Linked DNA regions of Homo sapiens: all the other regions are linked to region 1. The links are contacts of gene promoters, found by promoter capture Hi-C in human tissues and cell types (Jung and others, 2019). All regions are on one chromosome and are shown on one strand. Each heading gives the region's core, a stretch centred on a gene start or on the middle of the fragment in contact. The rest is flanking DNA. Distances are from core to core; before and after follow the strand shown.

Evidence for each region. Contacts are between HindIII fragments. The study calls those that stand out against the background at their distance.
Region 2: a fragment that was not itself captured here is called in contact with the fragment with the promoter of FBXW10 in region 1 in 2 of the 25 tissues and cell types used here (mesenchymal stem cells and mesendoderm cells).
Region 3: a contact is called between a fragment that was not itself captured here and the fragment with the promoter of FBXW10 in region 1, in 3 of the 25 tissues and cell types used here (bladder, mesenchymal stem cells and neural progenitor cells).

Annotation. Positions count from the first base shown.
Region 1 is chr17:18,742,624-18,745,777 of GRCh38, forward strand. FBXW10 (F-box and WD repeat domain containing 10) reads left to right here and starts at 1,431. Exons shown (of 14, transcript NM_001267585.2): 1 at 1,431-2,126. The coding sequence starts at 1,622. The HindIII fragment of the contact is 4,270 bases long and covers 1-2,946 here.
Region 2 is chr17:18,792,603-18,795,756 of GRCh38, forward strand. The region is part of intron 3 of TVP23B (trans-golgi network vesicle protein 23 homolog B); the gene reads left to right. Among named protein-coding and RNA genes, the nearest start is that of TVP23B, 13 kb to the left of the region's middle. The HindIII fragment of the contact is 3,545 bases long and covers 1-3,154 here.
Region 3 is chr17:18,707,282-18,710,435 of GRCh38, forward strand. It overlaps the pseudogene TRIM16L. Among named protein-coding and RNA genes, the nearest start is that of FOXO3B, 27 kb to the left of the region's middle. The HindIII fragment of the contact is 5,027 bases long and covers 1-3,154 here.

The sequences.
Region 1 (3,154 bases), core at 181-2,680:
GGAGGCTGAGGCGGGCGGATCACTTGAGGTCAGGAGTTTAAGACCAGCCTGGCCAACGTGGCAAAACCTCGTCTCTACTAAAAATATAAAACTCAGCTGGGCATGGTGGCCCATGCCTGTAATCCCAGCTACTCGGGAGGCTGAGGCAGGAGAATCACTTTAACCCGGGAAGCAGAGGTTGCAGTGAGCCGAGATGCCACCACTGCCCTCCAGCCTGGGGGATAGAGCGAGACTCTGCCTCCAAAAAAAAAAAATGCTTCCTTGAAGAATGTCAGCCTCATAGATTAAAATCCTAATTTATTTAAATCTTTAAAAACAAGCTATTTATAATCTGTCAATTATAAATAAACAAGTTAATTACGAAAAAAAAAAAAGAGCTACTTTTAGCTTGCAGCACTTCTTAGGGTAACGTGCTCGCCTTACAGATCCAAAGAGTCTGCTTCGGGCCTCCCTTCTCTTTGCCACCCTCCTTTGTCTGGCCTTCCCGATTAATTAAATATTAATCTACTCATGCCTTTTCTCCAGATTCCTCTTCAGACAGAAGAGGTTGAGCTGTGAGAACTGATCTCATTCTTAACCTGATTCTTATTCCCCATTCTGACCCTAGTATGTGACTGCCATTGCCAACAAAACCCCAGCGATGGACTCCATTACCTTTCTCTGGTTGTGCCTGGTCTTTCAACATGGGCATTAGAAAGGCACACAATATTGCAAACCTTTTGATTTTATCTAGGGTAATAATACTTAGTAACAGTAACAATAGCAGCAACAACTGATCTCATATATTTAATGCAATCCTAGAAGGTAGTTATCATTTTTATTACCCACCTTTATCTTCTCCATCCTCATAACTAGGATGGAGACACTGAGGCTCAGAGAGGACAGGTTGCCTGCTCGAGACCATATAGCTCCTAAGTACCAGAGTCAATGTTTGAACCGAGTCTTACCTGCAGTAGGAGAATTATCTCAGCATGACTTTGAAACTCTTTCTGTGAGCTGCCCAATATGTTTTGCCTGGGCCCTTTGACTACAGTGAGATTTCTGGTTAGTATTGTGAAGCAGTTAAATAACTTAAATTTACATTAAACATTTCTGGTTTTACTTTGATGATGACTTAAGAAAATGAATATAAACATATTTAGCATCATTGGGATAGCCAGTTTGTAACTGAACAGATATAAACATAAGAAGTTTGCATCTTATTTTATATTCATGAATATTCAGAAGCCATATATAACAACAATAATTAAAGTGCAATACCAGTAATAGTCCACATATTACTTAAATTTGACTAACAGTATTCTTGTTGTTCTAGAAATGAGATGACCAGCTCTTTCAGAATATACAGCAACTGCCTCCACATAAAGCAGTGCCAGGTTTAGGAGATTTACGGTAAAGCCATGTTTCCAAGGAGGTCTGTACAAAAAGCCAGACTTCTGCTGGCAGTTACTGAGAGAGATAGGCTTTCCATCCATGGCAGCCATTTACTTTTGCTCTGGGAGACGTTTGTAATAGAAAAGGCACAACTGGGGTATTTATTCATTCCCCCCGTTCCTCTAGTGTTTGGTGGCGTTGCCGTTGCAAGTGCGCAGGGCTAAAATGGACTGGTTATCTTAGGATCATGGAAAACCTGGAATCAAGGCTCAAGAATGCCCCCTATTTTCGTTGTGAGAAGGGAACCGATTCCATCCCTCTATGCCGGAAGTGTGAGACGTGTGTCTTAGCCTGGAAGATCTTCTCTACCAAAGAGTGGTTCTGCAGGATCAATGACATATCACAGAGGAGGTTTCTAGTTGGCATTCTGAAGCAGTTAAATAGCTTATATTTGTTACACTATTTCCAAAATATCCTTCAGACCACACAGGGAAAGGATTTCATCTATAACAGGTCCCGGATCAACCTCAGCAAGAAAGAGGGGAAAGTTGTGAAGTCCTCCTTGAACCAAATGTTGGATAAAACAGTAGAACAGAAGATGAAAGAGATCTTGTACTGGTTTGCGAACAGCACCCAGTGGACCAAGGCGAATTATACTCTCTTACTGCTGCAGATGTGCAACCCCAAATTACTGCTCACTGCTGCCAATGTGATCAGAGTCCTGTTTCTGAGAGAGGAGAACAATATCTCAGGTAAACAAGGCCACAGGCAGAGACTAGAGGGCCCCCGAAGACCAGAAGGCAAGGCTTCAGAAATCTGTAAGGAACTGCAGTTGTAGACAACATAGGTAGACAGAGATTGCACAGAACTCAGCATAGGTTTTTTGAACTGACACCTTGTCCTGACACCCGATCCTGTTTACCAAAGGAGAAATGACTGAGTGTAACTTCCTTCTTGAAAATGATCAATGCAGGAGGAAGTACACAACTTTTAACTCACAAGCATTTATCATGGATTTCTGCATCTCATAGGCCCAGAAATGGCTGGTCCCTGCCCCTGACCCCTTAATGCTGGTGTCGTTCCTGCTTTAGGGATTGGACTGAGCTCGAGAGGGTTGTAAAGGGGAAGCTTTTGTTTTTCTCTTCAGCTGCCCTGCACAGAAACCAGACCAAGAAGTCAAAACTTAGGGCTTTTTTTTTTTTTTTCATTCACTCTACCATGCTCCTTGCTTATCCATGAAATGAAACCTTAAAGTAGAGTTTCTCCAAGGCTGGAGATAGCTTAAGGGCCAAATAAGTCTAGGGTGGTAGTTCTCCAGCTGTGGCTTGTATCAGGATCTCCAGCAGGACCTGTTAAAACAAGCTCCTCCCCCAGAACTTCGGACTCAGCAGGTCTGAGGTGGGCCCAGGATTCTGTATGTCTTTTCTTTTTTTTTTGAGATGGAGTCTCGCTCTGTCACCCAGGCTGGAGTGCAGTGGTGCGATCTTGGCTCACTGAAACCTCCACCTGCTGGGTTCAAGCAATTCTCCTGCCTCAGCCTCCCAAGTAGCTGGGACTACAGGTGCGTGCCACCATGTCCTAATTTTTTTGTATTTTTTAGTAGAGATGGGGTTTCACCATGCTGGCCAGGCTGGTCTCGGACTCCTGACCTCGTGATCCGCCTGCCTCGGCCTCCCAAAGTGCTGGGATTACAGGCGTGAGCCACTGCACTCGACCAGGGATTCTGTATTTCTAACAAGTTTCCAGCTAGTGCTGATGTTGCTGGTCTGGGGATCTGTCT
Region 2 (3,154 bases), core at 301-2,800, 50 kb after region 1:
CAGTTCTTCCTGGTAATTTCCAAACTCTTAAAATTTTTCTGGGTTTAGAGTTTTAAAAAATGCGATCAAAATAGTTTATTTTCTGATAAGGTTTATTTGTTTATTTTTGTTTTTAAACAAGGGCTTAAAAAATGGCACCCTTTTATCCTTGGCAAAACTACTTATAGATAGCAAAGCAATGGAGATATAAAGCAAAATTAAGAAGTCAAGAATAGGGAAATTATTAAGTGGACTTGGGATAAGCAGGGTTCTGAAACAGTTAAAATAGAGATGTGTCGTAATTGTTATAAATCTCAATGTACTTACTAAAAAAACAAAAAATCAATCTTCATCTAAACCCCTAGGTGTCCAATCTTTTGGTTTCCCTGGGCCACAGTGGAAGAAAGAATTATCTTGGGCCACACATAAAATACACTAACATTAGCTGATGAGCTTAAAAAAAAAATCGCACACAAAAAAATCTCATAATGTTTTAAGAAAGTTTACAAATTTCTCCTGGGCCGCATTCAAAGCTGTCCTGGGCAGCATGAGGCCTGTGGGCAGAGGGTTGGATAGGCTTGCCCTAGGTGATGTTAATGAAGATAAAGAAGAGGTAGAGAAGGGAAAATAATTTAAAGGTATGCTTAAATGCTAAAGCTTATATTGGTTTTTATTTTATTCTTCACTCTGACAAATTGAGTAAAAAAGGTTAAATAATGGTTTTAAAAATTTAATGGCAACTATGGCTGGGCGCGGTGGCTCACACCTATAATCCCAGCACTTTGGGAGGCTGAGGCGGGTGGATCATGAGGTCAGGAGATCGAGACCATCCTGGCTAACATGGTGAAACCCCATCTCTGCTAAAAAAAAAAAAAAAAAAAAAATGAGCCGGGCGTGGTGGCAGGTGCCTGTAGTCCCAGCTATTCAGGAGGCTGAGGCAGGAGGCGGAGCTTGCAGTGAGCCGAGATTGCGCCACTGCACTCTAGCCTGGGCAACAGAGCAAGACTCCATCTCAAAAAAAAAAAAAAAAATAATGGCAACTATTAGTAAAATTTAAAACCAGTCGTGTATCTTCTGCAACATTGGAGAAGATGGAGCAAGTAAAACAGTTCATAGAGCAAAAGAAGGAAAACAAAGCAACTGTCAAGGAAGCTTAAATCAGAAAGTACATGTATAAAGTGATGTAAGTAATAGCAAATTCATTATAATAGGAAATGTAATTTGATTAAACTACCCATTTAAAGACAAGAATACTAAGATTGGTCAGAAATCAAAGTCCAAACAAAAGATCTAACAACATTAATGACATTAGAAAAAATAAAAGAAGGCAAAGATAACATCAGATCAACTCAAACAAAAAGAAACTTGGCATTGTATTATTATCAGATGAGATATGGATCAGAGTAAGAAAGCACTAAGAGGAACAGAAAAAGGTGATTTTATGAATCACAGTGAAGATCATTCACAGAGTAAAATTATATCAAACTATGTATAGTAAAAAAATTGGAAATATTAGAAAATAGAAAAGCATTATGATGAGTTTAACAAACTACTATCTTTAACAAACCAAAGTGCCAAAAAATAAATAAGTTCTGAAGGATCTGAATGAAATAATTGGCAACATCAATTTGATAGCAGTATTTGGGACTTTGTATGACAGAATACTTTCTTGTTAAATGCCTGTGGGGCATTTACAAAAATTGACTAAATATCACTGTGAAGAAAATCAAAATAAAATTGCCCAAAGCACCTACATTTTCTACTCCAATGAAACAGAACTAGAAATTAATAGAAAGTAGTTGTCGAAATTGGAATTCTTTTTAAAAAGCGAACTACTACATATCTTGGGTTTAAAAGGAAGCAAAAACTGTAAATATAGGTTATTTATACCTTAATGGTGATCATTTACAGTTAAACTTTCTGAATATGTCAAAAACTGAATTCAGAGGGAAAATAATAGACTAAAGCCTTTTATTTTAGACAAGAAAGAGGGAAAATAATGGACTACTTGAGTCCAGAAATTTCAAAAACAAGCAATAAGCGTGAGAAATCAGGAAAATAAACTAATAAAGATAAAAGCAGGAAATAAAGAGTTAGAAAATGGGAACACAGAAGAGTTTGAAAGTATTCTGAGAGCATTCTTTGAAAATACCTATAGAAGAGACCTCTGGTTTAGGTCTCCCTTGCCAGCTCTTTTTTTTTTTTTTACTTAGCATCTCTCCCATAGGAATTTTGGTCTCATAAGACTCTTCCTTTTCTTCTCCTGTATTCCCTTCCTAAGGAGTGCCGTTTATGCTTCTGGTTTTAATTGCTGATCTGTAAGCTGTGTTGCCTCCCAGATCTGTATCTCCATTCAGGTTTGTCCTCACAACTCAAGGCCTCTCCATGTGTCTTCTTGACGTTTTTATGTGGCTGTCTTGAAGGCATCTCAAATCTTTTTTTTTTTTTTTTTTTTTTTTTTTGAGACAAAATCTTGCTTTGTCACCCAAGCTGGAATGCAGTGGTGTGATCTCGGCTCACTGCAACCTCTGCCTCCTGGGGTTCAAGCCATTCTCCTGCCTCACCCTCCTAGATAGCTGAGACTACAGGCATGCACCACCATGCCTAGCGAATTTTTGTATTTTTAGTAGAGTCAGGGTTTCACTATGTTAGCCAGGCTGGTCTTGAACCCAAGTGAGCCACCATGCCTGGCCAGGCAACTTATATCTTAACATGTGTAAAATACTACTTGTCATCTTCCACTCCCCAAAAGCTCTTCTTCTTTGAGTGTTCCCTTTCGTGGGGCCTGGAATCACTATTTTTTTACTTGAGCAAACCAGAAATGTATCAGTTGCCTCCTTCCTACTCCATATCCAATTAATGACCAAGTCCCATAAATCCATAGATTGTACTTTCTTCATTAGGGCATCAGTGCCTGCTGCTCTATCTGGAATGCTCTTCTTCCTCCCACATCACCTTCATACAGGGATTCCTAATCTTTTTATGCCATGGGTCCCTTTCATAGACTCATGAATAAGTTTTCACATATATAAAGTACATAAGATTTCAAAGGAAGTCACTTATATTGAAATATAATTTAAAAATATTAGAAAAGTAAATTTCTGATTGAGTTATATGTGTAGTAGTTCCCCCATTATCTGAGGTTTCACTTTCTGCGGTTTCAGTTACTGCTATA
Region 3 (3,154 bases), core at 227-2,726, 35 kb before region 1:
AGTTGTGCAGAACTGAGCTTGTTGCCCCTTCTTGTACTGATGGAAATAGTGCCATGTCCAAACAAAATAAAGAAGCTCATAGCTAATTACATATCCTAATACCACCTTCCTATAAAACTTTGCCTTAATCTGTAGTCATTCCTGCCCCCAGCTCATACCCTCCTGTGGGCAGCTTTTGTTCGCTTTACCTCATCCCACTGTTTTGTGATCACCCCCCGGGAGATGAGGGACCCAGTTAATAGGCCAGATGTCAAGACTGATGACATTTCACACACTAAGAGAACTTGAAAGTTTACTATTCATACACAGGGTTTCTGGGGAGAGCAAGATAGATGAAAGCTGGTCCAAAATGGCAAGAACAGAGAGGAGGCTGGGCCTTTAAAGTAGCTAGGGAGTGGGGCTGGAGAGCATTCGATCTGTGGGCTTGAGGGATTCAAGCTTCCTGCCAGTGCTGGGAGCTCAGGAGATGCCCATGGATTTCTTTATCTAAAGCACCAGGTGTGCGGTGGGGCAGTGTGGAGGAGGGGAGAATAGAAAATGGTGGAAACTTAAATGCTGTCAATGGCCAGACATCAAAAATGGGGCCAAACTCTGTTACATCTACCTTTTCAGAAATCTTTTTTCACTTATCTCAAAATAGCTCTTTAATGTTATTGTGTCTTTTTTTTTTTTTTGAGACAGAGTCTTGCTCTGTCACCAGGCTGGAGTGCAATGGCATGATCTCAGCTCACTGTGACCTCCGCCTCCCAGGTTCAAGTGATTCTCCTGCCTCAGCCTCCCAAGTAGCTGGGACTACAGGTGCCCGTCACCACGCCCGGCTAATTTTTGTATTTTTTGTAGAGACAGGGTTTCACCATGTTGGCCAGGATGGTCTCAATCTCTTGACCTCATGATCCGCCCGTCTCAGCCTCCCAAAGTGCTGGGATTACAGGCGTGAGCCACTGCGCCCGGACTATTGTGTCTTCCGTTGATGAGGAATCTATTTTGCTTTTTCCATCTCCACTTTCTTAGAATTTTCTTTTTTTTCCCTTTCCTTAAGCCTGAAATTATAACAGTTCTCAGAAAGTAAGAACCATTTACCTTGGAAACTGTCAGCCTTACATAGTAACTATTATGCAATCCCAACAGAAGAGTTAGGGAAGATTGAGTCAACACTTTTAGAAAACATTAAAAAAAAAAGGTCATATGAATTTGTATCAGACTATCACCAGATTAAGTTACTTGAGGCTGCCTGATGAAAATTCCTGTATATGGCTCTAAGAAATTTTATGTGTACCTAATAAAGCCAGGCATTATTTTTTGGTTGCTGTGACTCAACACTTACATGCAAACTTTTTTTTTTCTTTCAAATCTTCCTAAGCTTAAATTGATGTTAGAGTCACTTTTTTGGTTTCCATGAATTATTTTCCCTGCCTTTTTTTTTTCTTCCTGTTTTAGATGCATTTCAGTTACCTGAGAGTAATCCAATTGTATAGGATTGGAGTCCCTTGACTTTCCCATATCATTCCCAGTGTACTAGCCAGAACCTGAGATTTCCCTGCTTTCTATTTTTCTCACTAAAAGGGCTATTCTGAACTCTCTCTTCTCACCTGCTTTCCTATCCTTCTCTTCTGTTTAAAGAAGTCGGTGTTAGTACAGCTTGAAATTCAATAGGGCTTGAATTACAGAAGGCACAACTGAAGTTAGAGAAGAAAGGATTTTTGTTCTGAAAATTAGCGGTGAGACAGACCACTCTGAATAAATGGTGATATCTGGAAATAATTTTTGAAATGCCCAAAATCCTTCGTAACTTTAAGAAATTGAAAAGGGGTGGGGAGGGTCGTCTATAAGAGTGTCTGTCATTAGAATAGGACTTCTTAAAGTAATGTTTGTTAACAATTGGTAACAAGGTCATTTCCAAACATAGTTCCTGGAGCCAGTTGGCTTTGGATTGGTAGAAACCATTGTTGTTCCTTCAGAGTCCTCATCTTTGGTAATTTATTTTAGAACAAAAGACTGAAGACAGATGTCCTTGAACAAAAGGTCTGTCCTCTAATGGGTGGATTGCATGAATTCGTGGATTGTACTGTAGTGAATTGGTATAATTCTCTTGTAGCCTAAATATAATTTGGATCCAGAAATATTAAAATTTTGAGGACATTATAGTGATGAAATATTTGAAATCAGAACAGTTCTAGAAATGTTATGACTCTGGGACTTACAGAGCCTTTTTTGTTTTGTTTCAGTTTTTACTCTGACTGTACTGTTAGTAGTATGGTCTATGCTTGTGCTCTCCTCTCAGATTTGTTTGTTTGTTTGTTTGTTTGAGACAGGGTTTTGCTCTATTGCCTGGGCTGGAGTGCAGTGACGCCATCACAGCTCACTGCAGCCTTGAACTCTCAGGATCCTTGATCCTCCCACCTCAGCCTCCTGAGTAGCTGGGACCACAGGCAAGCGTCACCACACCTGGCAAATTTGTTTGTATTTTTTGTAGATGGTGTTTTGCCATATAGCCCAGACTGGTCTTGAACTCTTGAGCTCAAGCAGTCTGCCCACCTTAGCTTCCTGAAGTGCTGGCATTACTGGCATGAGCCGCCACGCCCAGCATTTGGATATTTCTATAACAGGGTTCTCTTTCGTGGGCTGTAGTGTAGACCACACTTACCCTTCATGATGGAGAATATAATTCCTCTCCTTTTACAACCTAAGCTAAAGCTCAGTGTGTTTGTTTGGTTGTGGTAAAGTCTGGGGTGGGGGTTTGATTTGGGGCTTTAGATAGTAAATGTTCTGATATTTTGATCTCTTTTTGGTAGGTAATCTGGATTCTTTAGTTTTTAAATCATGAGTGTCTAATTTTCTAACTTATATGTTAAAATTGCCTGTATGCTTGGCTGATATGTGTCCAGTGAAGGGAAAATTAATTTATATGTTAAATTAATTCCTCCAAGCAAATTATCCTGAATAATTTGCACTGTTGTGATAAACTAACTAGGGTGACCCCAGGCTTGATTTGAGGATTGCAGGAAGAGATATTTAGTGATTAAAGTAGGGCTTTCTGTCTTTTCGGAGGAAGCGTTAATACTTTTTAGGTTTTCTTTAAGTTAAGAGGCAGTTGTCACGTTATCACTCTTTTCATTTTGCAAGTTAGTCTCCTTTAGGACCCAGTTTAAGGTAT